Linked DNA regions of Homo sapiens: region 1 is linked to region 2. Evidence: promoter capture Hi-C in human tissues and cell types (Jung and others, 2019). All regions are on one chromosome and are shown on one strand. The core of a region is centred on a gene start or on the middle of the fragment in contact, and the rest is flanking DNA. Distances in the headings are between cores, read along the strand shown.

Region 1 (2,700 bases), core at 143-2,642, 1.0 Mb after region 2:
ACTCAAAATTACTTCAGTATAGTTTCTGTCTGATGCTCTTTATATTAGGTATTTGAACCAACCATAAGTGTTTATATTCAAAAATGTTAATTTCATCAGTTTTGGTGGGTATTTCTTAATTCACAATTCTCCATCTCCAGGAAATTAGGATGACACTTTCCCTCTCTCTCCTGTTCTGCACTTTATTTGCACTTTGCTTACTTTGTAAATGTCCTTCTCTAGTCCCCTCTTCTATGCTAGTGATTTATTTTCTCTTTTCTCCAATTAACCTCCTGATAAACTGTAAGTGTCTAACAGTTATCTTACAACCACTCCACTTAGCTTGCTGCTATATACTCTGCTTTTTGCCAACAACTAATGGCCTTCACTTCCTCCTATTCTTCCCACGACCCCTCCTTTTTAAAGTAATCTAGGAGACATAAAGTACTTGGTCAGACTTTTAAACCAGGACATCAATTTTTAGGCAGTCAATAATGAAACAGGCTGACTCTGCATGGAAACCATAAAGAACTTCTCTGCTGACTCTTGCCCAGCTCATCTACATTTGTGAATGACGACACATTTTTTATATCATTTTCTTGGAGGGGAGCACAGTAACATTGACATTCCACTTTTTATGTGACAGAATTCAGTGTTATATAAGCTATATAATAAGTAGTAATTTTATTATTACCTTCTGTGACCCTCTCCTTCAACCCTCTCACTCCACAAAAACAAATAATATTTAACCATTAGTGTTCGAATTGCTGCACAAGTTAATTGGAAGTATAACTTTTCATCAATATAAACATTTCTATTACACTTTACTGTTTCTCAATTTCAGAATACTTGTAAAAAGTATAATTTGCTATTTCAGATGCTAAGAGGGATTTTAAACCTAGACTATAAATATCTATGATAATATGCGTCACTTCTGAAGTTGTAAATATTTTATAAATTACTCCTTAATTAAAATAATTAGAGATAACACAATGCCCCCAAATAGTCTGTCAGTTATGCCATGGAATTTGTGACAAACACATTGTAGATGTCAATGTTTTGTTAAGATCAGTATTCTTCCTCAAGAATCACAGGTTCTTTGCATTATCCCTACCAGACCATTAATAATCTGAAGTTTTTATAAATCCTTACAATTTTTATTATATTTTCTTTGCTTAATCATTGTGAATTAAAATATTAACATTCTTTCCCTCTCAGTTTTCACCAAATGTTGAAGCCCTGGATTCAAGTTTTTAAACCATTAAATTTTCAATCTTTCTGCCTCTTATTAAGCATGCAGCTTAGTCATTGCTATAGTCATTCGGTACAGGAAAAAAACTGAGCATGTTATAGTTTGGAATATATTGGAACTATCATTCCAGGCTTTTATCAAGGAGGTTATGTTGAATAACACTCTTCTTTTCTAAAAAAAGAAAAAAATTAACTAACAAAGAAAGATTGTATACATTTAAGGTGTACAAAATGATGATTTGGTATACATGTACATTCTGTGGTTATTATCACAATCAAATTAGTAAACACATTCATCACCACCCACGCTGTACATTAGATTCTCAGAACTTGTTGATCTTATGACTCAAAGTTTGATCAAAATCTCCCCAATTTTTCCACTTCCCACACCCTGGCAACCGCTGTTCTACTCTCTATTGCTATGAGTTTAACTACTGTGAATTCCGTATATAAGTAAGATCATGCAGTATTTGTGTCTCTGTGTCTGGCTTATCTGACATAGCATAACGTTCTCCAGGTTCATCCATGTCTTCACAACTGACAAGATTTTCTTCTTTTTTAAGGTAGAATAGTATTCCATTGTGTATATAGATCACATTTATCCACCCATGGAAACTTAGGTTGATTTGTATCTTTGCTATTGTGAATAATACTGCAATGTCATCTTTCTTTGCTTTTCTGGATGCTGTGCTCCTCTTTGGGTGACATTTGAAGTATATTTCTTTGCAGAAGAATAGTACGTTTTTAGAATTTTTAGAGTGTAAGTCTGATACTCATTTCTATTTATGGTACCTTAATTTGACTTAAAAAATGTGCGTGTGTGTGCATGCATGCACTATAAAACTAGAGGTATGTTCAGAACAGAATATTCTACTAAAAAGAAGTATTTGGAATACGCTATCACTCTTAATTTTTAATAAGATGTTTTAAGCTTGTGACAGTGTAAAAATCAGATTAAACTCATTAATGCCAAGATAATACAAGTAAATTCACATATACAATAATTATTCTGTTCATAGCTATTAAGGACTAGTTGTGAATAACCTCATGTTTTCTTTTCACCTTTTCTGACATCATCAAAAACATGAAATACTGAGGGATTATTTAACAAAATATATACAAAATCACAAAAAAGCACAATAAAGACTATAAATTGTTGCTAAGAGAAATTAAAGATGACCTAAATAAATAGAGATATATAGCATGCTTCTAGTTTGGAAAATGTTAGGATATCATTTGTCCCTCTATTTATGTATGGATTCGATGCAATTCCAATCAAAATCCCAGTAGTATTTTTTAAATGATAAATTGGCCTTAAATAATATGTACGGATATAAAGGACATAAAATAGCCAAAACAATTTTGCAACAGTAAAACAAGTTTAGAAACATTAGCCTTATACTACCTTATATCAGAATTTAACAAACTACAGTAATAAAGGCAGCTAGGTTTCTAATATCAATGGATTAG
Region 2 (2,700 bases), core at 98-2,597:
AGTGCTGTGATTACAGGTGTGAGCCACTGTGCCTGGCCAGCAGTAGTATTTGCAGCACTATGTTAGGGTTAGGGAAGGTAACACCTGAAGTGCTTACCCACAGTGCCTTGGCATTGAGGAGTCTCAATTGGTAGTTATCCTAAGGATTGCCCATGGAGGTGAGAGTTGGGACATGATCCTTCCTTCATTAGTGTCAGGTGTCACTGCACAGAGCAGGTCAGAGAGGACCAAGAGTACTTTCACACCCCACCCCCACCACCCCCACAAGACCCTGAGAGCTTCCAGCCTTTACCTAGAAGATCCATAGGACACTTGAGCAGCTTCCTCTCTGTAACCACCTTGTGTTCAGCCGCGCCTGCTCCTTCAACTCCAACTGGCATGATGTAGTGGGAGTCCTGGAGAGACAGGCCCTTGGGGGTCAGCCTGGATGGTAGCATGAGGCGCTTCACACAGTCTCCCTGGCCATTGGGTCATACTCACCCACTCAGTGACATAGCAGCTGCTATAGGTTGCCTCCAACACCACGGAGCTGCCTGGACCTTTTCTTATCCAGGTGCCACAGTCGGAGTCATTCTGCAGCTCGTGCAGCAGCCCTTGGTTGTCTGGAGGGGTGGGGAAGAGGTGAGAAAACACAGCGGTCAGTCTCCAGTGCCAGAAAGGATAGTCAGCCTTGCCATTAGACCCCAAGGAGCAACTGTCAATAAGAGGAACAAGAGGGAAATCAGATTCAGATCAGATGTAGTTATAACTTAGACTATTTCTTTTGCAGAAAGATGCAACAGGGCTCAGAAGGTGAAAGTATCAATACGGGAAGATAGGGAGACATCTTAGGTAGTAGAGGAGACATATCATTGCTTGGCTAAGCAAGGCAAGTCATCAAACTTACCCCAAGCTATTAGTACAGGAGGAGACGTTGCCTCCTGGTTGAGGTTTACAGCAAACTGGAAGCTCCACGGCCCACAGTGGAGCACACTGGAATAATCTGGTGCCTCAGGCTTATGCTGGCCACTCACAGCAAGAGATAATGAAACACACAGCAAAACGCACCGCAGCAGCCACATAATGCTACCAGGAGTTCCTGCCGGCTGCAGACTCTCCGCCTCCTCTCCCAAGAGCCGAGGGTCTGCCTGCCCAGATTCCTTTATATACAGAAGTCAGGCTTGTTTTCAGCTGCACATCTTTGTGACACTCAGGTGGGATGCCTTCAGAAAGGGGAATTCCTCTAGCCTCATTTGCTTTGGGGCACAGTCTGCAGCTGCCTCACATTAAATACCACAATCCAGGCAGACTTCAGAGCCCAAGAAAAATGTAGTAACTTTTAGCTAACAGAAAGGAAGGAAAGAAAGCTTCCTCAGGGTTGCTCAACATAGCATTTGTCCCACCAGTTTATTGAACTTATTGACTTCAGAAGACCTCCCTCTAGAATTTTGCACATTTGGGTGTGAAACTACCATCTATGAACTATGGGGTCTGGGTACGTTACAAACTCTCTGAATCTTGGTTTTCTCATCTGTAAAATGGGAATGCTATCTCCTGGCAGTGGTGTGCTTGAGGATTAAGCAAGAGATTCTATGTCAGGTGCCTGGCACAGTGCTTGGCCAAGCAGTGAGTGCTCAGTCAACATTGTCGGGTGAGAGTTGGGGCCCTTGAGAAGCCTTGTCACCTTCTCCATCCATTCTAGAAAAGTTTCTGTACGATTAGAGCCTGTCTTGAAATTCTAGAAAAAAATCTAAACTTATTTCCTGAGAAAGGTTGATTTTGAACCCTTTCCTGGTCCTTAGAGGGAATCCTACCACAGCAATCTTTCAACAAATTCCAAAGTGGTTCATTGCCATAACTGTCCTACAGTGTTTCCCCACAGGATCTGGGGGAAATGTGGATTAGGCCATGAATTCCTCAAACTGGTTCTGCCTCTTACAGCTATTTGACAATTTTATCTTTCGGCTGTGTTTCAGGCATATTTCATAAAGATGTCAGGGTTTCTTGCTTGCTTTCTACATTTTTGTTTTCCACATAAACTACAAGTTATATACTTTGGTCACTCTTTAAGCTAGAGTGTCAGACCAGATTGTAGAGAAATTCTAAGAGATTTGGGGATAAATGGATACATTCCCCACTGGAGAGGCAAGAGCATGGAAACTTGTCTTCTGCAGTCTGCCACCAATATTCCCAAATTGTACCCTGATTGTATTTAGACTGATATTTTTCGGTTGACTAAAAATTGTAGTCAAAGCACTGAGAATGTGTAACTAGGTATCTCTAGTTCTCTTCAACTCATCACAGAGGACAAATAAGTATGTGTCTTCCTGGGAAAATTGGTGGCCCTTTTAACCACATGATGAAAAATGACATTGAAGGAAAGCTGGACTCTGCCCTCAAAGACAGATGTGGCTTCCCTGACACCGTCTACCTGGATTAGGTGCTCACCACTGGGTTATTACATGCCATTTACTCACAGGATTTGCCAGGTTGGATTGTAATGACCTCTTTCTTATTCAGTTTGCCACTAGAAGCACGTGAGGCCAGGGACTTTTTTATTTGTCACTGCATCCTGCGTGCCTTGGATGTATGTACTCAGTGTTCTCTGAGTAAAGACTGAATCAATGAATATGCTTTCATTAGTGGCCATGTCCTAGGGCTAACCCCCTTGAAAATGTAGTTTCCAAACCTCACCGGTACAAATTCATTTCCTTTATGATG

Evidence for each region. The method cuts DNA at HindIII sites, captures the fragments that hold promoters and counts their contacts. A contact is called where the count stands out against the background at its distance.
Region 1: a fragment that was not itself captured here is called in contact with the fragment with the promoter of ZP4 in region 2 in 1 of the 25 tissues and cell types used here (dorsolateral prefrontal cortex).

Annotation. Positions count from the first base shown.
Region 1 is chr1:238,915,454-238,918,153 of GRCh38, forward strand. No RefSeq gene overlaps it. Among named protein-coding and RNA genes, the nearest start is that of LINC01139, 430 kb to the left of the region's middle. The HindIII fragment of the contact is 3,819 bases long and covers 1-2,700 here.
Region 2 is chr1:237,889,575-237,892,274 of GRCh38, forward strand. It overlaps ZP4 (zona pellucida glycoprotein 4), which reads right to left and starts at 1,348. Exons shown (of 12, transcript NM_021186.5): 1 at 887-1,348; 2 at 481-602; 3 at 293-395. The coding sequence starts at 1,061. It also overlaps the pseudogene LOC100130331. The HindIII fragment of the contact is 12,268 bases long and covers 1-2,700 here.